Linked DNA regions of Homo sapiens: regions 1, 2, 3, 5 and 6 are each linked to region 4. The links are contacts of gene promoters, found by promoter capture Hi-C in blood cells and fetal thymus (Javierre and others, 2016). All regions are on one chromosome and are shown on one strand. Each heading gives the region's core, a stretch centred on a gene start or on the middle of the fragment in contact. The rest is flanking DNA. Distances are from core to core; before and after follow the strand shown. Region 1 overlaps YEATS2 (YEATS domain containing 2). Region 2 overlaps YEATS2 (YEATS domain containing 2). Region 3 overlaps KLHL24 (kelch like family member 24). Region 4 holds the start of LAMP3 (lysosomal associated membrane protein 3). Region 5 overlaps YEATS2 (YEATS domain containing 2). Region 6 overlaps YEATS2 (YEATS domain containing 2).

Evidence for each region. Contacts are between HindIII fragments. The CHiCAGO score rates a contact against its expected background, and 5 or more counts as called.
Region 1: a contact is called between a fragment that was not itself captured here and the fragment with the promoter of LAMP3 in region 4, in 2 of 17 cell types (activated CD4 T cells and naive CD4 T cells). The highest score is 5.3, in activated CD4 T cells.
Region 2: a contact is called between a fragment that was not itself captured here and the fragment with the promoter of LAMP3 in region 4, in 3 of 17 cell types (erythroblasts, activated CD4 T cells and M1 macrophages). The highest score is 7.7, in erythroblasts.
Region 3: a fragment that was not itself captured here is called in contact with the fragment with the promoter of LAMP3 in region 4 in 1 of 17 cell types (neutrophils); the score reaches 5.4 in neutrophils.
Region 5: a contact is called between a fragment that was not itself captured here and the fragment with the promoter of LAMP3 in region 4, in 1 of 17 cell types (erythroblasts). The highest score is 5.9, in erythroblasts.
Region 6: a contact is called between a fragment that was not itself captured here and the fragment with the promoter of LAMP3 in region 4, in 4 of 17 cell types (activated CD4 T cells, naive CD4 T cells, erythroblasts and 1 more). The highest score is 7.1, in activated CD4 T cells.

What each region holds. Positions count from the first base shown.
Region 1 is chr3:183,770,683-183,774,847 of GRCh38, reverse strand. YEATS2 (YEATS domain containing 2) reads right to left here. Exons shown (of 31, transcript NM_018023.5): 16 at 2,285-2,543; 17 at 1,054-1,215. Among named protein-coding and RNA genes, the nearest start is that of YEATS2-AS1, 38 kb to the left of the region's middle. The HindIII fragment of the contact is 2,373 bases long and covers 362-2,734 here.
Region 2 is chr3:183,751,746-183,756,107 of GRCh38, reverse strand. YEATS2 (YEATS domain containing 2) reads right to left here. Exons shown (of 31, transcript NM_018023.5): 10 at 3,855-4,035; 11 at 1,743-1,982. Among named protein-coding and RNA genes, the nearest start is that of YEATS2, 56 kb to the right of the region's middle. The HindIII fragment of the contact is 4,831 bases long and covers 1-3,913 here.
Region 3 is chr3:183,680,703-183,684,961 of GRCh38, reverse strand. It overlaps KLHL24 (kelch like family member 24), which reads right to left. Exons shown (of 8, transcript NM_017644.3): 8 at 443-4,259. Among named protein-coding and RNA genes, the nearest start is that of YEATS2, 15 kb to the left of the region's middle. The HindIII fragment of the contact is 3,164 bases long and covers 1,147-4,259 here.
Region 4 is chr3:183,160,270-183,164,298 of GRCh38, reverse strand. It overlaps LAMP3 (lysosomal associated membrane protein 3), which reads left to right and starts at 1,565. Exons shown (of 6, transcript NM_014398.4): 1 at 1,565-1,692. The coding sequence starts at 1,644. RefSeq lists a silencer at 1,355-1,564 and an enhancer at 2,177-2,386. The HindIII fragment of the contact is 7,998 bases long and covers 1-4,029 here.
Region 5 is chr3:183,706,915-183,711,533 of GRCh38, reverse strand. All of the region lies in intron 1 of YEATS2 (YEATS domain containing 2), which reads right to left. Among named protein-coding and RNA genes, the nearest start is that of YEATS2, 11 kb to the right of the region's middle. The HindIII fragment of the contact is 1,269 bases long and covers 990-2,258 here.
Region 6 is chr3:183,787,536-183,791,543 of GRCh38, reverse strand. It overlaps YEATS2 (YEATS domain containing 2), which reads right to left. Exons shown (of 31, transcript NM_018023.5): 21 at 564-747. Among named protein-coding and RNA genes, the nearest start is that of YEATS2-AS1, 21 kb to the left of the region's middle. The HindIII fragment of the contact is 202 bases long and covers 1,351-1,552 here.

The DNA of each region.
Region 1 (4,165 bases), core at 299-2,798, 610 kb before region 4:
TTAGGTATGAGGAAAAAACACCAAGTGAGAGTGGAACTGACACATCATGGTCAATGAACGCAAGGATGATGAGCTGACACACTGCATTTTGGCAAGGGCGGTTAACTTCCAATGACCCTGAATGCTGTACCCTTCTACTTCTGATTCAGAGGGAAATAATTTCCTTTTATCCTATCCTTTTCAACACTGCCCAAACGGTTTTTCTCTATATGTCAAAGCAAAAGTTTCTTTAACTGCAGATAAACTGCCTCATTTCCATGGGGCTTTAAGACTTACAAACCTAGGTAGAGTCTGTATTTCTCTTTCCATCTCCAAACCTAGCAGAAGTAAGGAATACATCCAAACCAGCTGTCCCCAAGCTTTGTGGCACCAGGGACCAGTTTCATGGAAGACAACTTTTCCATGAATTGGGACAGGAGGCGGGGGGTGGTTTGGGGAAGAAATTGTTCCACCTCAGATCATCAGGCATTAGATTCTCATAAGGAGCACACAACCTAGATCCCTCGCATGCACAGTTCTCAACAGGGTTCGCGCTCCTGTGAGAATCTGATGCCACTGCTGATCTGACAGGAGGCGGAGCTCAGGCAGTAATGCTTCTTCGTCCATGCTCAACTTCTGCTGTGCGGCCCAGGGGTTGGGGACCCCTGATCTAAATGAAGTCAAACAGACACACTCGATTCCAATCCTATGCCAACCTATCCCCAAAAACAGACTTCCAGCTTCTATAAGTAGATGGATCTTCCCTCAGGTATCACCAGATAATTTTCAGACACCACTTCATTCATGGTTCATGTAGACAGCTTTCTCCCAACAGCCTCACCAGCCATCTCTCTCCAGAGTGATTCATCTCTGATTGCAAACGCTGAGGAGCAAACCCACTTCTAGTTAAATTATCGTATGTGTTAAATCCATCTGAGCAAATGCTACCATTACACCACCCAACAGAGTTACAGAAATGCTTCCTGAAACAGGTAAGAACTGCCCTCAGATGGACAAGATGAACACACATAGAGAACCAAGAACCAAATGATTCAACCCAATGGTTTCACTAACTAGCATTGTTCGTAGCTCGCAGGATGGCTCCTTGAGGGATCAGCAGCAGTTTTCCTTTTCCTGAAGGGTTCTTGCTGTTTGTAGTTAGGTAGAGTTTAGTGCCAGGAGGCAAATTTGCCAAGTTGGCCAAATTAGTGGCTGGTAGCTGCAACGTTGCCATTACTAAAATGGTAAAGGAGAAAAAATTGTAAGATAAATTGAAACTAAGGGCAACACTCTAAAATTAAAATACAAGGCAATAAATTCTTATTTTAGAACACTAACAAGCAATAAATTCAAAGTTTGTTTCCCAGATGCACAATGCTTTAAAGACTGATATTCTTAAATATCTTGCTAATTAAAAAATAATTTATAGACCAGAAGAGCCTGCCAGAGGCTCTTTATATCTGTATATAATAGGATGATCGTACGTCCTGGTTCTGCCCAGAACAGTTCTAGGTTACACCTGTCCCACTATAATTATTAATAATGACTCTTTTTACTCTCCAAAGTACTGTGGTTTGGACGATTAATGAAATAATCACCCTGTCTATGGAGGATTACATATTTTCCCCCATTTGTTTAAAGTCAAAGTTAGGGCAAATGTGTGCTCCTAACTGGCAAGTACCATTGGCCCTCTGTATCTGTGGATTTCACATCCATGGATGTAACCTACCTCAGATAAAAAATATCCATATATTTGGCAGACAAAAGGATGAGTACATCTGTACTGAACATGTACAGACTTTTTTCTTGTCATTATTCCTTAAACAACACAGTGTAACAACTATTTACATAGCATATACATTGTTATTACATTGTTATTTACATTGTTATTAGGTATTAAGATAACCTAGAGATGATATAAAGTAAAGTACATCAGAGGATGTACATAGGTTATACGTAAACAGTACAGCATTTTACACAGGGGACTGTGGATTAGCATCTGTGGATTTTGCTATCTGCAGCAGGGGGTCCTGGAACCAATCCCCCACAGTACTGAGAAATGATTTGTTCGTGTGTGTGTGTGTATGTGGGTGTGTGTGTGTGTGTGTGTAAATTTAAAGCTAAATACTCACAGACCTTTATGTAAAATGTCCCATAAAAAAGAACAAACATTTCAATACACTTCTTACAGCATCAACCTAACTAGGCTTTCCTAGACCAGATCAAATAGCAAATAAAATCACTAGCAAAGGAAATTTTGGACAGAGCTTCTGCTGAAAGGGCTCCCAGTGATGATCCGTTTTACCTGAACCCTGGGATCCACTCTTCTGAGGACCAGCGGCAGTAACCTGGGCCTTGGTTAAGGTCTGCACTGGCTGAGCAACAATGGTTCCTCCACCTCCACTCACAATTGCTTTGGCAACTCCTTGGGTTACAACTTGCTTTGGCCCAACTGCTTTGGAGACAGAAGAGCTGGCCTTGGCTACCAGGATCTGGCCACCACTGATCGCCACAGCCTGCTTCACTGTTGAAGGTAAAGCAGACCCAACTGGTACCCCGACAACCTGTTCAAAACAGAGCAGAGTCCAACGGTGCTTCGAGAGCTCTTAGAACAGCAGTCACCGTTTTGGCAGAGAGCAAAACAAAGGCCTGCACATAATACATGCAGCCTAATTCAGTCATCTAGGAAAGCTACCTACACAGGTGTGAACGGCAACTGTATTTCTTACACTTGGGTATTACAATAATAGAAGCTTAACAATTGTTGTCTTGCCTCAGCTACTTTTTATAATTTACTTTAATAGAAAATTTGGGAAATTCAGAAGTATAAAGAAAAAAGTTTGGCCGGGCGTGGTGGCTCATGCCTGTAATCCCAGCACTTTGGGAGGCCAAGGCAGGAGGAGCATTTGTGGTCAGGAGTTCGAGACCAGCCTGGCCAACATGGTGAAATCCAATCTCTACTAAAAATACAAAAATTAGCTGGGCATGGTGGCACACACCTGTAGTCCCAGCTACTCTGGAGGCTGAGGTAGGAGAATCCCCTGAACCTAGGATGTGGAGGTTGCAGTGAGCCAAGATCATGCCACTGCACTCCAGCCTGGGTGACAGAGTGAGACTCTGTCTAAAAAAAAAAAAAAAAAAAAAAAAAAATTAGCCAGTACAGTGGCACACATCTGTAGTCCCAGCTATTCAGGAGGCTGAGGCAGGGGAGGATCCCTTGAGCCTAGGAGTTCAAGGCTGCACTGAGCCGTGATCACACCACTGCCCTCCAGCCTGGGTGACAGAGCAAGACCCTAAGAAAAGAAAAAAAAAAAAAAAAAAAAAAGGCAAGAATAATATTTAACTATTAAAAAAAAAAAAGACCCCAGTACCCAAATAATGAAAATTAGAAGTATCTAGTTCCAAAAGTAAAATGAATTCTTTTAAGAAAATACTCAGGAGTGTTTTTAAAACAAAGTCAACAGTAGGATGTTAAATTAAACACTGAATGAATGGCAAACTGGAGCAGTGTTTCCCACTCCCAGCACCTTATTTCATAAAAAGAACTTCTCACCAGAAACTAGATGAACAGACTTCCACAAGGTTGGAAGAAATGCAAATGATCTACCTTCTTAAGGCAAAAAAGACAAAATAGGAAGTGCTGTTCACCCATCAGATTGGGGGAAAAAGAGTTTAAAACCAAGAAGTTACTAGAGGCTGTGGGGAAAATAGGAATTTGTGCTCACTGTTGGTAGGAAGATAAATTTGGACAGCCATTCCAGAGAGGCACTGGCCCATCTGCTAAAACTGAAAATTCACATACCCCCGTATAGTAGGAATTGTTTTTAGGAATATATCCTAGAGAAACATACATGCGTTCAAGGGAACATATACAACAATGCCCAACATAGCATTATTTTTACCAAAAACTGTTAGCAACCTTAATGTCTGCAGCATGCAACAACATTCTTAACGTCTACAGATAGAGGAATGGACAAACTGTGGCATAAAACAGACAACGAAAGGTCATACTAAAAATAAATGAACTAGAATTATATATATTAGTGATATATTAGTGTAAACAGACTGGAAAAATAAGAAAGCGAAAAGGGAGTTGCAGAAAAATGTAAGTAGGAATATCTTTTACGTAAACCTTCAAAACACAAACAACATCACGTTTCCTATGACTATGTATTCATGTAATAAG
Region 2 (4,362 bases), core at 249-2,748, 590 kb before region 4:
AGGCAGGCTTTTATAGTACTGGTTATACTCGAAGACACTAAAATTAGAGACCGGGCATGAGACACCAGGTGCAGTGGCTCGTGCCTGTAATCCCAGCACTTTGGGAGGCCGAGGCAGGCGGATCACCTGAGGTTGTGAGTTCGAGACCAGCCTGACCAACATGGAGAAACCCTGTCTCTACTAAAAATACAAAATTAGCTGGGTGTGGTGGCGCATGCCTGTAATCCCAGCTCCTCGAGAGGCTGAGGCAGGAGAATCGCTTGAACCCGGGTGGCGGAGTGAGCCGAGATCGTGCCATTGCACTCCAGCCTGGGCAACAAGAGCAAAACTCTGTCTCAAAAAAAAAAAAAAAAAAAAAAAAAAAAAGAAAGGAAGGAAGAAAATCAGTAAGTAAACAGCTAGATTTAAGAACCTGGTGTCTTGTTTTGAATAGGAAAATATGAAATTCACCTACCCAGAATAAAAGTCTCTGTCAATACTATGTCACAGCCGTAACCCAGAAAGATTCGTGTTCCCGCAAAATACTCTCAAAAGTTACTGACAGTTAAACATCCTCTACTGTCTTTTATTGATCAAACGTCATCCATGAATTTCTTTAAACTTCAAATCAATTTATATGTTCAGCCTATTCCACCTCTGAAGTAGCAAGTTCCAAAATTTTTCTACCTGGTAGGTAAAATTGCCTACCAATGACAGGGGACGGTGGCTCACGCCTGTAACCGGAGCACTTTGGGAGGCCAAGGTAGGTGGATCACCTGAGGTCAGGAGTTCAAGACCAGCCTGGCCAATATGGTGAAACTCCGTCTCTACTAAAAATACAAAATTAGCTGGGAGTGGTGACACGTGCCTGCAGTCCCAGCTACTTGGGAGGCTGAGCCAGGAGAATCACTTGAACCCGAGAGAGGTGGAGGCTGCAGTGAGCTGAGATCGCGCCATTGCACTCCAGCGTAGGTGACAAGAGTGAAACTCCATCTCAAAAAAAAAAAATTGCCTACCAATTAGAAGCTATTTATCTCTCATCAAAGATTTGGATCCTATTTCTACTTAGCTGTCTACTTACAACACCAAACATTCTTTTTTTCCCCCCTTCATTTAACTATTATACAGAAGTCCTCATACTTCCTGGTTATTTCCAATTGCCTTTTAACAAACATGTTTTGTTCTAAGGTGGAACAGTCAAAACCATATATTCCTACTAAATTTTACCTAACATAAAATGAAACTATCACAAGGCAAAAGATAATCCAATCTTAGTGAACAAGACAACTCAGAACTACCTACTGACAATAGGAATGAATAATTTTCTAGTGTGGTTACAGACAGAATAAAGCATTTCAATTCCCAACCAACTCTAACCCTTAAAATTTAACTCCATGCCAAAGGCCTCTAAATTTTTTCTATCACTAGTCACTGTGGTTTCCATGTATATAATCCCCAAACACGATTCCTACACCTTAGTTTCAGCCATATATCCTAGCAAACATTTTACCTGTGCTGATTCTGGCAGACAAAAATTTGACCATTTGAGTTTCATTTATCTCCTCCATTCATTTCCGTATGAATGAGCTTTGTTTTTGCCTTGTGACAGCTTTGCCAATCAACAGTGATAAACTTCCTTTTGTTAAACATAACACTGCTTAGAAGAACTTAAGAGAAAAAAAGCCAAGTATTTTGTTTTGTTGTTCCAACAATTTTAACATCCAGTCAACTCCACATACACTGTCTTCAAAACATCTGCATACCTGACACAATCTTGCAGCTCATGGTGATGGGCTGGAAGGATTTTCCAGGTGACTCAGGATTAGGAACCTGACTTTGTGGAACAATTTTGCAGCTTGATGCTATTGGCTGGAAAGCTGAATTGCCATGGGAACAAAAGGTAACTTTCTGGGATGTAGTCATTTTGGTGGGTGTTCTTTCCAATGAAGATGGCAAAGCATAAAACGGAGTGTGTCGTTCAGCTTCAGTGCTAGCTGGGAATCCTGCTTGAGATGAAAGAGGCAAACGGCAAGTCATCAATCGCTTTGAAATAAAACCTTACCGTTGTGGAAAAAGAATAAAAATGCATTATTTCAACACCATTTTAAACCATGTACTGGTAGCAAAATAAATACAATCAATCATCCCTTCATATTTTTGGTGAAAAATATATATGCTTAGAATAATGTTTAAAGTGCTTTTTTAAAAAAACTTGAAAACATTATTAACTATAAACCATGTATAACATAAAAAGAACAAAAGTTCTTATGTTCCTCCATTTTTTAATATATAAACTGAAAAACTGTTTAGAGAAGAAAAAATCTTAGAAAGCATTCACTAAATCTAATGATATCCTCCTATCTTATTTATTTACTTATTTTTGAGACATTATTTCACTTGTCACCCAGGCTAGAGTGCAGTGGTGTGATCTCAGCTCACTGCTACCTCCACCTCCCGGGTTCAAGCAATTCTTGTGCCTCAGCCTCCGGAATAGCTGGGATTACAGGTATGCACCACCATCCCTGGCTAATTTTTGTATTTTTAGTAGAGACGGGGTTTTGCCATGTTGGCCAGGCTGGTCTTGAACTCCTGACCTCAGGTGATCCGATGGTTTCAGCCTCCCAAAAGGCTGGGAATTACAGGCATGAGCCACCGTGCCCGGCCCCTCTTGTATCTTATTAAATGCCCATAAAAAAGATGCAATTGAAATCTAAAGAGGAATAAAGTTGAGATTTTATAAAAGAACTATAATACTAACCACATTAAAATATAGGCTTAGAAATAAAACATTTAAGATCAATTTTATATCTTTTATGCTTATATATGGGAACATTAAAATATGTATTTATACACATATATTTGTTAAATTTAAAAATGGCATGGTCAAAATACATTGTTGGTGATGAATCTTTTCTTAAGTAAAACCAGGTATTTAATATCCAAGTTTCTTGCTCGCACAATCAGAAGCTGAACCATAAAGTCTTCCTGTAATACATTATAAGGAATTATCAAGTGATAAAAATCTGTTTTAGGCCAGGCGTGGTGGGTCATGCCTGTAATCCCAGCACTTTGGGAGGCCAAGGTGGGTGGATCACCTGAGGTCATGAGTTCGAGACCAGCCTGGCCAACATGGTGAAAACCCATCTCTACTAAAAATACAAAAATTAGCCGAGAGCGGTGGTGGACGCCTGTAATCCTAGCTAACAGGGAGGCTGAGGCAGGAGAATTGCTTGAACCCAGGAGGTGGAGGTTGCAGTGAGGCGAGATCATGCCACTGCACTCCAGCCTGGGCAACAGAGCAAGACTCCATCTCAAAATAAAATAAAATAAAAATAAATTTAAAAATCTTATGTTTTTTAGCTATTTTTACATTTTATAATATGTCAGTAAAACTTCATGGAAATTTTTTTTTTTTTTTTTGAGATGGAGTCTCGCTCTGTTGTCCAGGCTGGAGTGCAGTGGTACCATCTCAGCTCACTGCAAGCTCCACCTCCCGGGTTCGAGCCATTCTCCTGCCTCAGCCTCCCGAGTAGCTGGGACTACAGGCACCCACCATCACACCCAGCTAAATTTTTGTATTTTTAGTAGAGACGGGGTTTCACCGTGTTAGTCAGGATGGTCTTAATCTCCTGACCTCATGATCCACCCGCCTTGGCCTCCCAAAGTGCTGGGATTACAGGTGTGAACCACAGCTCCCGGCCGGAAAAATATTTTTGACAAGAGTGGAAATTTGGCTTTCATAACAGAACTGTGTAGTAGAGGCAGCATGTCCACTTATAGCAAAGTTATTTTCCATATACTATAGGTCTCTGAAAGCAGCAAATGGGAAAGGAATGCCTCAGAACAACGCTATGCAAGGAAAACTGCTGTATTACCTTTCTCCACAGAGGTATCGGGTACTGGCTCATGTGACTGCTTTATTGGTGAAGAAGCTTTCACTGGGGCTGGAATGGTCAAAGGCAAAGATGGAGGGGCATCAGAGATGTCAGACTCCGAGGACTGAGGATAGATACAGTCTTCTCCGAGAGAATGGCGATGGAGTTCAACATCCACTACCTAGACAATTGGGCAACAATCAGGCTCATGAGTCCATCATCAATGTCACAGAAAGCTCAAGTCCCGTCCAAGAATGTAATCTCCGGGATGTGAGAGATAACTTCTAATCACACTTCAAAGGCAATTTCAATCTGAAGAACTAAAGGATTTATTCTAGAAGGTAATCTAATCTGGCTTAACAGACACATACCTCAGTGAAAATCTAATCTGGTTTAACATACAAATCTCAGTGAAATTATTCACAAAATTGGGACCTCTTGATTTTGCTGTTGCTACTCCTTACAACGCTATTCCTCCAAATCTTTGCATGGCTGCCTTTCTCACCAG
Region 3 (4,259 bases), core at 1,479-3,978, 520 kb before region 4:
GCATGCACCTGTAGTCCCAGGTACTCAGGAGGCTGAAGCACGAGAATCGCTTGAACCCAGGAGGCAGAGGTTGCAGTAAGCCAAGACTGCACCACTGCTCTCCAGCCTGGGTGACAGAGTGAGACTCCGTCTCAAAAAAAGAAAAAAAAAATTTTTTTTTTTGAATAGGGAATACTTTCGTGTGTTTCAGACTAAAAAATTGATTTTATATGTATTTATAATTACACACATATACGTATGCAGTAAAGTTTCATTTTTACTTGTCCTTCAGCCACCATTTCCTTTCCTCTTACACACTAATATTTTCAGTTTCTTATTTATCCTTCCAGTTATTTTATGGACATACCAGTAAATACACACATATATTAATATATCCAGTATTTTCCCCATCTCTTTTTTGCACAACCCCTTAAATATACTTAAAATAAAACAGAACAACAAATTTTTCGTAAACAAAATTTAATACAACCATATAGTCAAGTAATAATGGTTAAAAGACATTTTATTAGATACAACTTTTAAAAAATTAAACTATGCAAGAAGTATATTTAAACAAAACATGTAAGTAAGTATTCACGTGCTACAACTTAACTAAGAACAATTAAATACAAAGCATTCTTTCCACTATGAAGACTCTGGAGCCTCTAATTGAAAGCAAATGACCTTAGGTCTATACTAGTTGTAAAGCAGATTATACTTTTGTTCAACTCTAAATTTGTATTGTCTTAGAGCTCCAACAACTCTCAATAAAAATTTAAATAAAGAAACCTTGGGGGAGGGGTGATAGGGAAGGGGAGAGTAAGTGCTTTTTCAAAAAGGTAAATGAAAAAGCCTGAAGAGGGAAAAAATTGTACATAAGTATGGAACAAAAATAAGTATACTTTTTTGACATTCGATGTAGATACTGCAAATGAATTTACACGGGTTTAATCAATGTAAGATAGATATTTGTCTGAATATTTTAAAAAGCACCTAGGTATCAAAAAATAAAAACAAAAAATATAATGAAACTCCAAACATCCAACAATCTCCCTTAACATTCTCATTCTGCCAAGCAACCACACGTTGGTGCTTATTACACAATTTAAGAAGGGGAAGTTTATTTACTCTATAGGAAACAAATATGAACCTTATCTAAGGTAAGCTTCATTTAGATTGAAAAAAAAGTTGAAATAGCACTAGAGAACTTAAGGCACATAAACAAATTCAGGTGCAGTTATTTTGAAACCATTAAAACAAATTCTTTTCTTTGGAACAATATATAAAATAAGTTATGAATGTTGCTGTTTTTATCAGCACTAGGAAAATTTAATATCTAAGGCAATCACACAAATGTAAAATGTTCATATAAAACATTAAAAAATGTCTAAAGTGTCTCTGGAATTATTCATTCACACTCCTGGCTCAAATGGTTTCTGGTGCCTAGCATTAGATGTGACAATAATGATAGCTAGCTAGTCAAACCTACTGCCTTAAAGATCAACCAATTTGCTCCATTCTGGTTACTTGGCATGGTAAATTTATTTAACTAAAAAGAATAATGGGGTGAGGTGATGTAAACCTGGCTTTCAATAAGATGCACAACAAATTCTAATAAGGCCAAAACTCTGTTGAGGTTAACTGGTGTCTTGAGTTTACTAAAATAAAGGCAGTCCATAGGAAGCCTCAAAGAGACATTATCTTACCACTTGGCACCACAAAAACACCAAGCTCTCCTCTCTGAAAATACAGGCCGGGGGTGGTGGCTCACGCCTGTAATCCCAGCACTTTGGGAGGCCGAGGTGGGCGGATCACGTGGTCAGGAGTGATCCGTCTCTACTAAACCCCGTCTCTACTAAAAATACAAAAAAATTAGCCGGGTGTGGTGGCACGCACCTGTGGTCTCAGCTACTCGGGAGGCTGAGGCAGAATCCCTTGAACCCGGGAGGTGGAGGTTGCAGTCAGCTGAGATCGCGCCACTGCACTCCAGCCTGGGCGACAGAGCAAGACCCCGTTCTCCCCCCTTCCCCAAAAAAAAAAAAAAACGAAAAAAATACAGTTTGAAGTAGATGTCGTCTTTTCCACATATAAATCTCAAGACATAAAAGGCACACACAATTCAACTCCTCTCTTTTCATATATGGGTTCTCACAGCAATTTAAAAAATCTATTGCCATATCCAGACAACAGGAGAAAAAAAAAATACCTGGTTTGCTTATTGACAAAAGTGGTGTAATTGAACCTTTGTCTTTCCTGAGTTTCAAAAAGGCTATTTGACAGTAGAGATACATAAACAATTCATATTCAGTAAGATAAAATGTATCAGTCCACAAAACATTTTCATCTTTTTAAGTATAAAAGAATCAATGTTCAACCACCACCATGTGTGAAGCCCCTTTTTCCAAATTAAACTTACTCTAGAATCATGAATTGAAGATTATTCAGTCATGGCACTTTACACCCCAAACGAGCAAAAGTAACAAGTTAATACCCTCCCTGAGTATTTACATCATCTTATCACCTGGTTTAAATGGAGTAAATACCTATATTTCAATCATCTAGGAAATAAAAAGGTTACTGAAGATCCAATACACTAGTATTTCATACCTGTGCAGTAAAGTCAGTGGGAAGATTACAGTAGAAAAGGAGGAAGTTCTACTGTTGTAAAAATTAGACCACTTTTGTAGCTGACTCACATAGAGGAAAAACAGAAAATGATTAAAGTTCATGAAAAAAAAACTATACTTTTCTGTTCTACAAAGCATACCTTTGAATTCCCTTTCCAACTGAGGTATCACAGCTGGGTTTAGCAAACTCATCTCTTCTGACCTTGTAAAACTAAATTGTCATAAAGATTCTGATTATACATAAGTCATCGTTACTAATACTCATCATGTACTTTCAAATGTAAAAAGTTCTAGAAATGCCCAAATAAAAAAAAATTCCAGAATTGAATTTAGCATGGTCAACTAATTTTTACTTTATGTGCTTTTTTGCTGATCATCACAGACTGCTAAAATTCATGGTGTTTGGTATATATGTGTGTATACAACCATACTATCTACATACATACACATGTACATATATAGATTCTAAACCAAAGGTTCATATGAGCATCACCTATCAAAAGAAAAATCTTTATGTGATGAGAGAATGAATACAATCTGACACCAATTTGGTTGATATACCCCTTTTGATATATTAATTCTACTCTAAAATTCTTTTTTATTTTATCAAGTCTAATGCTATTATTTATCAAGAATTAGTAAAGGAAGATAAATATTAAAAAATTAAAATATTAAGTTGGGTAACTTTAAAAATAGTTATTTAAATTTTCTAAGATTCAACCTAAGTTCTTGGTGGCCTTCAATATAAATTTTAAGTACTTAATTTATGTAGTTTTAAATTATGTAGAGAAAAAATTAATATTGGTGTGAGGTCTGTGTTTAAAAAAATTCTGTTTTTCAGGATTTCATTTCAAATTTACTATAATAAACACATGGATATTAAAATAAATGTATAACAAAATAAAAGTAAATAGTTAATACTTTTTACAACAGAAAAATACTAGAATATAAAGTTGTCTTGAGAAAGTCTTTTTTTATGTGAAGTCCTATATTCATGAAATGGACATGATCTTACAAATACACATGAAAATAACAACTATCATTTGTAGAATCCTCAGCATTTACAAAATACTTTTTCACACATTATCTCATTTACTGTAAAGAATTTCTTAACTAAATAATTCTATTATCTATAAGAGTATAATGCAGATGTTTACTCTAAAATTAAAGTACAAGTATCCAAACTGTACCTACATTCTTTCAACTAAGAGGATAGAAAATTGTTTTCTGAATTGTTGTTATCACAAAATGGTATCTATCATTTTAAAATTATGATTTGAAAAATAAAAATTCCCTAAAAATTTTTAAGTTTTTTAGAGTTTTCCTCAGAATGTAGATTCTAGCTAAGCATTAAAGTTTAAAAAATGTCTATCTGAAATCTCTGAATCATTCTAAAATGAGAAAACAATGTAGCTTACCAATGTTAGGCTTTTTATTTCAACCTTGGTTTTAACAGAAATCTGGTGACACTTTAATTACATATTTGCATCATCCCTTCTATCACAAGAAATATACAAATTATAATGTGAAAGACAACAGTGACTGGAAGTCAAACTACAGCAGGCTACCTAGAACATCCCTAAATGTTGTAAATTATATCCGTCCACCCAGAATCACAATAATCACTTATGCTGTAGTTCCTGCCATATCCAT
Region 4 (4,029 bases), core at 316-2,815:
TTGTTCCAGGATTTTCTGGTCTGTAAAACCACCTGGGGCCAGGCACAGTGGCTCACGCTTGTAATCCCAGATCTTTGGAAGGCCGAGGCGGGCGGATCACCTGGGGTCAGGAGTTTGAGACCAGCTTGGCCAACACGGTGAAACCTGGTCTCTACTAAAAATACAAAAAATTAGCCGGACGTGGTGGCGCACATCTGTAATCCCAGCTACTGTGGAGGCTGAGGCAGGAGAATCGCCTGAACCCAAGTTTGCAGTGAGCCGAGATCACGCCATTGCCCTCCAGCCTGGGCGACAGAGTGAGACCCTGTCTCAAAAACAAAAACAAAAACAAACAAACAAAAACAAAGAAAGAAAAAGAAAAAAGAAAATAAAAAAACACACTGGGAGTGGGCATTATTATGTCCGTTTTACAGCTGAAGAATCCAAGGCTCCTAGAGGTTCCCCGACGCCGCACGCCGGGGAGTCGGCAGCGCGAGCTCCCAGCCAGACCTAGCGCCTCTGGGCTGTGCTCCTGTTGCTTCCCGCAAACCGCGGTCCTGGCGAGGCCTGGGCGTGGAGCGCGGCTGCCGCAGACTCCCTGGGAAGACATGGAGTCAGGGTGCTTAGGGGTTTTTAGGCTCCTGCTCGCCTAGTGGCTGGCTTTCTCCCGGCTGAGAAGCGTCTCTGGGTTCCCAGAAAGGTACCCGAGCTGTTAGAAAAGAGGAGACCCTGGGCCGGGCGCAGTGGCTCACGCCTGTAATCCCAACACTTTGGGAGGCCGAGGCGGGCGGATCACAAGGTCAGGAGATCGAGACCAGCCTGGCCAACAGGGTGAAACCCCGTCTCTACTAAAATACAAAAATTAGCTGGGCGTGGTGGCGGGCGCCTGTAACCCCAGCTACTCGGGAGGCTGCGGCAGGAGAATCGCTTGAACCAGGGCAGTGAGCCGAGATCCCGCCACTGCACTCCAGCCTGGCGACAGAGCGAGACTTTGTCTCAAAAAACAAAACAAAACAAAACAAAACAAAAGAAATAAAAAGAAAAGAAATAAAAGAGGAGACCCTGGCCGGGCTCGGTGGCTCACGTCTATAATCCCAGCACTTTGGGAGGTCGAGGCGGGCGAATCACGAGGTCAGGAGCTCGAGACCAGCCTGGCCAATATGGTGACACCCCGTCTCTACTAAAAATACAAAAATTAGCCGGGTGTGGTGGTGCATGCCTGTAATCCCAGCTACTCGGGAGGCTGAGGCAGAAGAATCGCTTGAACCCGGGAGGCAGAGGTTGTAGTGAGCCGAGATCGCGCCACTGCACTCCACCCTGGGCGACAGAGCGAGACTTCGTCTCAAAAAGAAAAGAAAAAGAAAGGAGGAGACCCAGGGTATGAGCGGAGGAGGCCGGCGCTGCCGGGACCACGCGCGTGCGGTAAACGGTCCCAGAGGCCCGGGCCCCGGCGGCTGCGCCGAGTCCCCGCCCCTCCCTGCTCCGTAGGGGTAGGAGGGGGCCGGCGGAGTTTCCCTCCCCGCCCAGCGGCCCTGGGCGGGCTTTTCGGCTGCTTCTCATAAGCAGGTGGTTTCGTTTCTCCGGCACAGGTAGGTTTCTCTGGCACCGATTCGGGGCCTGCCCGGACTTCGCCGCACGCTGCAGAACCTCGCCCAGCGCCCACCATGCCCCGGCAGCTCAGCGCGGCGGCCGCGCTCTTCGCGTCCCTGGCCGGTGAGTGGCCCTCAGCGCTTCCCGCGGTGGCCCTGACGTGTCGGTCCCCTTTCATCTAAACGCACTCTGGAGTCCCGGGCGCCACAGGACGGGCTGCGGGTAGGGAGGTGTGGCGCGTCCAAGGGCTTCCCAGCTGGAACTTGTTTTCCGTGAGTTACTCAGAGCAGGTGTCAACCCCAAAGACAGTGACACTGTCCCTCGCTTCCAAAAGGGTTCTGGACACCTTCTCAGGGAGAGTTTGTAGAGGTCACTCGGATTTAAGAGATGGAGACCTGAGCTAGGGTTTAGGAATGGGAGTCTTGGCTTTGTTATCCGGGAAAAGCGCTCCTGTCTTGCTTTTCCTTGCATCAGATGTGGTCTGACAGATTGTGCCATTTCAGAAAGGTGTAGGAAGAGTGTCAAAGACTTTTTTTTTTTTAAATGATCATTGTACTTCCCATCCCAGATGCCGTCTGGGACGCTGAGTTTATGATTATTTTATGATCCGACCCTCCGCTTTCTCCAGAGCTTTTCCCCCTAGACATTGAGTCCTCGGGTGCTGTGGTGTTGTCCCTGTGATGAAGTTTCCTGGTTACTCGAACGTCATGAGAGAACTGTCTCCGTCCCTACCGCCCGGCTAACATGCTCAAGCAGGGGGCGCGGTGGCCCTTGCTTGTAACATGAATGCTAGGAATGTTAGGGAAGAGGTGAGAAGGGTCGTGCCAGCTGCCCTTGCCTAGGCAGTTCTCCCCTGCGCCACACTTTCACACTTACAGTTTCAGGTTCTTTTAGGGGACAGAAGAGGAAGTCATCATCACGCTCCACAGGGCAAGCTATTAAAAAAGCAAAACAATCTCAGCCTAGCGGTAACCCACAGTGACCTGTATGTGAGCGCTCCTTGAATGGATGGATAGGCTCAGAAACACAATGGTATTGACAGGCCAGGCGTGGTGGCTCACACCTGCAATCCCAGCACTTTGGGAGGCTGAGGCCGGCGGATCACTTGAGGTCAGGAGTTCGAGACTAGCCTGGCCACCGGTGAAACCCCGCCTCTACTAAAAATACAGAAATTAGCCGGGCATGGTTGTGGGCGCCTGTAATCCCAGGTACTCGGGAGACTGAGGCAGGAGAATCACTTGAACCCAAGAGGCGGAGGTTGCAGTAAGCCAAGATCATGCCACTGCACTCCAACCTAGGTAACAGTGAGACTCTGTCTCAAAAAAAATAAATAAATAAAAATAAAAATACAGTGAGTATTGACAAATGCAAGGGCAAGTGGAGAGAAAATGCCCACATTACCGGTTCCTTTCTGAGCTACAAATTCTCAGAGGTGAGCTAGGTGAAGGATGCATCAGAGGTTTCTTCCTCAGAGGTGGAGGCCTTTGAGGGGTGGCACGGAACTGGATTCAAACCCTTGCCCTGACCCTTCCCAGCAGGGAGGCCTTGTTCACATCACCCAACCTTTCGGGTGCTCAGTTCCCTCACTGAAAAATGGGGAGAATAATATCCTCTGCTAGGAGTACTGGGGAAACAAATGAGGTAGCACCTGGACAGCAATTACTGCAGTGATTTTGCTCAGTGATGTTAACTCGTATCTCCTGTTTGTCCCTCCAGTCCCTCTCCCATTCACCTCACAACCTGACCTTGAGCCCCTTCTTCACTCAGTACAGGGCTCATCAGCACATGGTAATTAACAATGATGGACATGGCTTCCTGGCACTCTCTGCATGCCAGGCACTGTTCGCAGTGCTTTAATCCACAAAACAGCTTTGTAAGTACTGCTATTGTCTCCGTTTTACTTGCGAGGAAATAGAAGCACAAAGAGGTTAAATAACTTGCCCCTGATCACATAGCTAGCTGGTGACAGAGTCGAGCTTTGAACCAGAGTCTGTGCCCATAGCAGCTAACCTATGTGCTTTACTCATACATCTACTTACCTATAACTTATTTAGTCTCATAAGAACCCTGAAAAGTAGGTGCTATTCTTATCCCTATTTTACAGATGGCGGTACTGAGGCAGAGGCAGGTTAAGGAATTGTTCATGGTCTCCCAGTTAGTGAGTAGCATTCCTGAGACTGGCATTCAAGACATCTGGCCTTGGCTGGGCACAGTGACTCACACCTGTAATCCCAGCACTTTGGGATCCTGAGGTGGAAGGTCGCTTGAGGCCAGGAGTTTGAGACCAGCCTGGACAACATAGTGGACTGTGTCTCAAACAAAACAAAACAAAAACGAAGTCTGGCCTTGGGGTTCAGGCTCTACGCTACTGTGCTACATGATCCTGCATGCATAGGCTCAAGAAATCCTTGTTGAATTGGAAATGAGCAAAAATCATCAGAAAGTTTTGCTAGGAGAGAC
Region 5 (4,619 bases), core at 375-2,874, 550 kb before region 4:
TTTGGACAGGCCCAGAACCCAACTATTATGTTTTATGTTTAAAGCTTTTTTTTTTTTTTTTTTGAGACAGAGTCTCGCTGTCTCCCAGGCTGGAGTGCAGTGGCGCGATCTCAGCTCACTGCAAGCTCCACCTCCCGGGTTCACGCCATTCTCCTGCCTCAGCCTCCCGAGTAGCTGGGACTACAGGTGCCCTCCACCACGCCCGGCTGATTTTTTTTTTGTATTTTTGTGGAGACGGGGTTTTACTGTGTTAGCCAGGATGGTCTCAATCTCCTGACCTCGTGATCCGCCCGCCTTGGCCTCCCAAAGTGCTGGGATTACAGGCATGAGCCACTGCGCCCAGCTGTTTAAAGCTTTTAAAAAGTAAAAGTAAGGTCTTGTTTCTTCAGCCTTCTCCATTTGGTCTGCAATTAATTTTAGACAGCCTCAGAAAATCTTGGGCTGTTACATAAAAAAGACAACTTTAAAAAAAAATAAACTTAATTTATTCTTCCTTAATGCAGATAGGAATCTAAAAACACCTAATTACACATGAACCTAGAATCAGAGGTGGATATAGCCCAGCAGATACCTAAACTTGTCCTTGTACCATACTACTTCCTCATCAGGCACCTGTCTTCCACAGTTTGCCAAGAGTCATAGGAGATTATCTACAAAGATGAGTCCCCCTCCAGCATCATCCTCACTTATCCATTCTACAGACTTCATAATCTGTATATTCTTATCCTACCTTCCAAGTAATCTCAAGAATAACGGTGGCTCCCACTAAAATGGCTGGGGATCCTTGAAGAAAAGTTATTTTTATTTTATCCTCACTTAAGGGACTTAAAAAAAAAACCCTCTCTTTGACTTTTGGTGTAAAACTGGAAGACTAGGAAGAGAAAAGAGAGGAATTTGGGGAGGGGGTGGGCAGAAAGGAAGAAACCAACAATGAGTTCATTTGTGCTGCCAAGATAATTCATTTTTTATGCAGCCTTTAGAATAAAGCTTTTCTTGTTGCATGTGGGCATATATTTGAGCTTCTTATAAACACATTTAAGAGGATTAAGCTCTATACTGGGCATTTAAAAATAATCCAGGTCTGCTTCTGTCTCACAAGAATAATAATGTGTAATGTGCACATGTCACATGCAAGTAACTGCTAGCTAGCTAAGACTAGGCACATCTGCTGAGGCATGCTCTCATGATGATATAATAAATAAGTGAACAGAATGTGTAACAAATGACCAATGATAACATTACCTTCTGGACTCTTCTTGTCTGACTTGTAGATTTTATGAAAAGGAAACATGAGCAGTTGTTAGATATGGTCAATTCAACTTGGAAACAAAATGTCCAGCTAATCCTCTATAGCTTCTGAATCAGCTGAAATTGAAAATACTGAGATGGTACTAGGAACTGCTAGGAAAAAAATCTGTTATCATATACAATTTGACTGTGAGAAAGAATTTTCTCTATACTCTGAGACAAAAACTGAATACGGAAATAAATGTAACGCTGCGACTAAAATAAGACTACTGTCATCCATTTCTCCAATTTAAACTTTTTATCTCGGGTCAGGCATGGTGGCTCACGCCTGTAATCCCAGCACTTTGGGAGGCCGAGGTGGGCGGATCACAAGGTCAGGAGATGAAGACCATCCTGGCTAACATGGGGAAACCCCGTCTCTACTAAAAAAAATACAAAAAATTAGCCGGGCGTGGTGGCGGGCACCTGTAGTCCTAGCTACTCCGGAGGCTAAGGCAGGAGAATGGCGTGAACCCGGAAGGTGGAGCTTGCAGTGAGCCGAGATCACGCCACTGCACTCCAGCCTGGGTGACAGAGCAAGACTCTGTCTCAAAAAAAAAAAAAAAAAAAATTTATCTCATTAAAACAGCCTCATTATAAAAAGTAAATGTGGGCAAGATGCAGAGGCTCAGGCCTGTAATCTCAGCACTTTGGGAGGCCAAGGCAGGTGGATCACTTGAGGTTAGGAGCTTGAAACCCACCTGGCCAACATGGTGAAACCCCATCTCTACTAAAAACACAAAAATTAGCCGGCCATGGTAGTGCATGCCTATAGTCCCAGCTACTCGGGAGGCTGAGGCACGAGAATCTCCTGAACCTGTGAGGAGGCAGAGGTTGCAGTGAGCCGAGATCATGCCACTGCACACCAGCCTGGGTGACAGAAACTTTATCTCAAAAAAAGAGTAAATGCTTTCAATTTAAATATAGAAAATAAATGATTTTTTCCATAAGTAACACAAGAAAACAAAGCTTTATAGAAGTAAATGCCATCAATTAAAACATACCATATCCATTCAAATAACATAACCAAGTCTGAGTTTTTGACAAAGGTTAGAAACCAAAAAGAAAACCAAACTTTTTTTTTTTGAGACAGAGTCTCACTTTTGTCGCCCAGGCTGGACTGCAATGGCATGATCTTGGCTCACTGCAACCTCTGCCTCCTGGGTTCAAGCTATTCTCCTGCCTCAACTGTCTGAGTAGCTGGGATTACTGGTGTGTGCCACCACTCTCAGCTCATTTTTTTATTTTTAGAAGAGACGGGATTTCACTATGTTGGCCAGGCTGGTCTCGAATCTCTGACCTTGTGATCCGCCCACCTCGGCCTCCCAAAATGCTGGGATTACAAGTGTGAGCCACCGCGCCTGGCCAAAAAAAATTTTTTTAGAGACAGAGTCTTACTCTGCCATCCAGACTGGAGTACAGTGGCACAAGCATAGCTCACTGCAACCTTGGAATCCTGGGCTCAAGTGATCCTCCTGCCTCAGCCTTCCGAGTAGATGGGACTACAGGTGTGTGCCCATACCTGCTAATCTTTTTATTTTTTAAAGAGACGGGGGTCTCACTATGTTGCCCAGAGTGGTCTTGAACTCCTGGCCTCAAGAGATCCTCTGGCCTTGGCCTTCCAAAGTGCTGAGATTTGTAAGCCACCACCCCTGGCCCCAAACAAAACATTTAATGTTTTATACTTTAAAATAAAACCCAAGAGAAAAATAATTTTGAAAAGAAAATTGTATAATAAAAACCATAAAGATGATGTAATGTACAGTCACTGGAAATTCGAGGTCTTAGCTCTCGAGTCAGGGAAGATGGAGAACCCCAGAAGCCAGTCCTAGAACTCTACCATTGTGTTTTGCAAACACATCATATAAGATGTGGCCAACAACATGGTGAAACCCCATCTCTACTAAAAATACAAAAATTAGCTGGATGTGGTGGCGAGTGCCTGTAGTCCCAGCTACTCGGGAGGCTGAGTCAGGAGAACTGCTTGAACCCAGGAGGCAGAGGTTGCAGTGAGCCGAGATCGTGCCACTGCACTCCAGCCTGGTGACAGAGCAAGACTCCGTATCAAAAAAAAAAAAAAAAAAAAGTGGCCAATTCTTGAGGAGAAAGGAGTAAAATCTGATAAATTAGACACTTGAAAGATTTGCCATATATCATATGAGGTATCATCTCAATAATTCTATGTGCCTCACATCATTTGAATATCAGAACCACTGAACTTGGGGCTCTCACTCAAGACTTCCCATCTGGTTTAAAGTTGGGGAGGGGGACGCCGGGCATGCTGGCTGCTCACGCCTATAATCTCAGCACTTTGGGAGGCCAAGGCGGGTGGATCACGAGGTCAGGAGTTCGAGACCGGCCTCATCAACACGGTGAAACCCCGTCTCTACCAAAAATACAAAAAATTAGCTGGGCATGGTGGCATGCACTGTTATCCCAGCTACTCAGGGCAGGAGAATTGCTTGAACCCGGGAGGCAGAGGTTGCAGTGATCCGAGATTGCGCCACTGCACTCCAGCCTGGGTGACAGAGTGAGACTTCGTCTCAAAAAAAAAAAAAAAAAAAAAAATAGGTGGGGAAGGGGAGTAGTACAATCATTTTCTATCTGCTTCCATACAGACAGGCATTCCTAAGATGCTGATAATGATTTCATAGTTCCTGGCCCTGTCCTTTCTACAGTCTTAAAAGAAAATACATTCTCTTTTGTAAACAAGACAACCAGTGTTCCTTTATTAAATATCTGAATAAGACTCTACAATCCATTTTCCATTAGCCAATGACATTTCAAAAATGTCTCAAAAGTCCAAACCAGAGGAATGGACGAACAAATCGTGGTATACTCAATGAACTCTTGATGCAGGCAACAACAGAAATGAACCTCAAAATCATTATGGCAAGCCAAAGAAGGCAAACACAAGAGTACAAGCTAAATTATCCCACTTAAGTTCTAGAAGAGACAAATTAATCTATAGTGAAAGAAATGAGAATCATAGTTGGAGGTGCTGGTGTTAGGGACTGACTGGGAAGAGGAATGAAGACTTTTTTCTTAGAAATATTTTATTCAGGTTGAGTATTCCTTACCCAAGATGCCTGGGACCAGAACTGTTTCAGATTTCATACTGTTTTGGATTTTGGAATATTTGCATATACATAGTAAGATATCTTTGGGAAGGAACCCAAATCTAAACATGAAATTCATTTACGCTTCATAAATATCTTACACACAGAGCCTGAAGGTAATTTTATACAACATTTTAAATAATTCAAAACATAACACAAAGTTTTGACTATGTTTTAACTGACCAGTCACAAGGTCAGGTGTGAAATTTTCCA
Region 6 (4,008 bases), core at 202-2,701, 630 kb before region 4:
GGGTTCTGCGTGGCTAAGGGTTTATTATATCATTCAAAAATTCAAATAGTAACTTTCAAATGATAATTTAAAGTCTCAGACAAAATCTGATACGTAGATTTTAAACAAAAATAATTCATCTAAAAAGCAACTGTTCAGAAAATGCTGCTGGGTTAATTACTTTTAACAATTTACCATACAAAATATTGCTTAAGACCCTCCAAAAAAATAGCTGGGCACAGTGGCTCACGCCTGTAATCCCAGCACTTTGGGAGGCTGAGGTGGGTGGACTGCTTGACCTGAGGAGTTCAACACCAGCCTGGGCAACGTGGTGAAACCCCATCTCTACCAAAAACACAAAAAATTAGCTGGGTGTGGTGACATGTGCCTGTGGTCCCTGATAATCAAGAGGCTGAGGTGGGAGGATGGCTTGAGCCTGGAAGGCAGAGGTTGCAGTGAGTCGAGATTGTGATATTGCACTCTAGCTTGGGCGACAGAGTGAGACGCTATCTCAAACAAACAAACAAAAATATTCCAGCCCAATGAGAGAAAAGAGAGAGAAATAATATCACAATGCAACTCACCGGATACTGTGGCTTTCCCAGAGATGGGGTTTGGTGTAGGCACGAGGGACGTGGCGCTGACGACGGTGGGGGTGGCAGCCTTGCAGGTTCCCACGGTGGCCTGGCTCACACACACTTGCTGCTGCCCAGAAGTTTTCGTTACAGAACTGACCGTAGATGAAGACACGGGAGCCATTCCTTCAGACTGCTCACCCATGGGGTCCGAAACAACACAGTTCAGGAAGAAAGCAGAGTGATGACTGACGGCGGTGACGGCCACACAGCACACACACTAAATATCATCTATTAGGTGTTAATGACTACTTAGTAAATGCCATACCATTTAAAAAAGATTACTTCTCTAGTTCAGTGGTTACTATACCTTTACATTTCATGGACCAAGAAAATTTAAAAAATTTAAAACAAGGAAGTATCATGGGGGTCATCATATTTTTAAAATTCACCACCTATTATATCCCTTTATAAAAGGCAACTTCATCACCAAAAAACTAGGAGGACATATTCTCAGAATATACACATGGACTAAAAATGAGCTTTATTAAGAACACATGACAATGATTCACTTCATTGAACAAACATCTACAGTCTGTCACTTCATTGAACAAACATCTACTACATGGCCGGCATAATGGTTAAGTGCTAAGGCTCTGAGAGAAAAGCGACCAAGGAAACAGTCACCTAAGTATAATGATGCTACGGCAAGCACAGGCAAATGTCACCAACACAACCAAGAAGAAAGGCACTGCTTCTGCCTAGGAATAGAAACAGGAGGGTACAGGAAAAAGCTTCAGGTAAAACATTAGGCACTTTAGAGGAATCTTCCAGATTTAAGACAGAGAAAGGGAGAGATGACAGTGTTTCCTGGCAGAGGAGAGTATGTAGAAAGTTGGTGAGGCATGAAAGAACATTGTATGTTCAAGAAGCTGCAAAGCAGAGTGGTGTCACCTGTGAAGAGGCACGGGGAAGCAGCAGCTGCAGGAGATGAAGCTTGAGAAGTCAAGCCACATCATTCAAGTCTGTGGGCTTCCAAGACGATTGAGAGATGGTTTTTCAACAAATGTTTCTAGGCCAACTGGATATTTACATAAAAAAGAATAAAGTTTGGTGTCTACCTCACACCACGTACAAAAATTAACTAGAGCGGCCAGGTGCAGTGGCTCATGCCTATAATCCCAGCACTTTGGGAGGCCAAAGCGGGTGGATCACGAGGTCAGGAGAGCAAGACCCTCCTGGCTAACATGGTGAAACCCCATCTCTACTAATACAAAAAAAAAAAAATTAGCTGGGCGTGGTGGTGGGTGCCTGTAATCTCAGCTACTCAGGAGGCTGAGGCAGGAGAATCACTTGAATCCAGGAGGTGGAGGTTGCAGTGAGCCGAGATCGCGCCACTGCACTCCAGCTTGGGTGACAGAGCGAGACTCTGTCTCAAAAAAAAAAAAAAAAAAAAAAAAAAAATTAACTCGAATGAATCTGAAACCTAAATATAAGAGCTAAATGTATAAAACTTAGAAGAAAACAAAGGCTTGAATTTTGTGGCTTTGGATTAGGCAATGGTTTCTCAGATGTGACATCAAAAGAAAAAGCAATGAAAGAAAAATAGGTAAGTTGGGACTTTAATAAAGACTTGTGCTGGGAAAACTGGATATCTTTATGCAGAAGAATGAAACTAGACCCCTAGCTCTCACCATGCAATCAAAATGGATTAAAGAGTTAAATCTAAGACATCAAACTACGAAACTACTACAAGAAAACATTAGGGAAACTCTCCAGGACATCGGTTTGGGCAAAGATTTCCTGAGTAGTACCTCAAAAGCACAGGCAACCAAAACAAAAATGTATAAATGGGATCACATCAAGTTAAAAAGCTTCTGCACAGCAAAGAAAACAATCAACAAAGAGACAGCCCACAGAATGGGAGGAAATACTGGCAAACTACATATACATCTGACAAGGGATTAATAATCAGAATATAGAAGCTCAAACAACTCTATAGAAAAAAGCCAAACAATCTCATTTGAAAATGGGCAAAAGATCTCAACACACATTTCTCAAAAGAAGACACATAAATGGCCCAAGGGGCATATAAAAAAATGCTCAACATCATTAATTGTGAGAGAAACACAAATCAAAACTACAATGAGAAAGCATCCCACCCAGTTAAAATGACTCTCATCCAAAAGGCTGGCGAGGATGTGAAGAGGGAACCCTCGTACACTGCTGGTGGGAATCTAAGTTAGTACAATCACGATAGAGAACAGTACAGAGGGTCCTCAAAAAACTGAAAATAGAACTACCATATGATCCACATCCCACTGCTAGGTATATACCCAAAACAAAGGAAATGAGTATATGAGGAGACGTCTGCACTTCCATGTTTATTACGGCACTATTCACAATAGCCAAGATTTGGAATCAACCTAAGTGTCCATCACCAGGTGAACGATAAAGAAAATGTGGTACATATACACAATACAATATTATTCCGTTATAAGAAAGAATGAAATCCTGTCATTTGCAACATGGATAGAACTGGAGGACATTATGTTAAGTGAAATAAGCCAGGCACAGAAAGACACATTTCACACGTTCTCACTCATGTGGGAGCTAACAATTAAAACAACTGAACCCATGAAGACAGAGAGAAGAATGGTGGTTACCAGAAGGTGGGAAGGCCAACAGCAGGGAGGGAGGGAGTGGGGATGGTTAATGGGTACAAAAATATAGTTAGAAGGGATGAGTAAGATCTAGTATTTGATAGCACAACAGGGTGACCAAAATTCACAATAATTTCTTATATATTTTACAGTCACAAAGAATACAATTGGTTTAAAAAAAAGATAAATGCTTAGGGTGACAGATACCCCAATTACCCTGATGCGATTATTACGCATTGTATGCCTGCATCAAAACATCACATGTACCCTGTGAATATCCACATTGATTATGTACCCATAATAATTTATTTATATATATTTTTTGAGATGGAATCTCGCTCTACTGTCCAGGCTGGAGTGGAGTGGCGCAATCTCGGCTCACTGCAAGCTCTGCCTCCTGGGTTCATGCCATTCTCCTGCCTCAGCCTCCTGAGTAGCTGGGACTACAGGCGCCCGTCACCACGCCCCGCTAATTTTTTTTTTTTGTATTTTTAGTAGAGACGGGGGTTTCACCTTGTTAGCCAGGATGGTTTGATCTCCTGACCTCGTGATCCGCCCTTCTCGGCCTCCCAAAGTGCTGGGATTACAGGCATGAGCCACTGCGCCCAGCCTAATTTAAAAAATTTAAAAAGGAATGAAAACCAAAATTTAAAACTTTTGTGGTTCAATACTATCAAGAAAGTGAAAAGACAGCTCAGAGTGCAAGAAAATTTTTGCAAATCTGGTAAGAGACATATCTAGAATATATAAAGTACTCCTACACTTCAACGATTAAAAGACAACCAACTAAA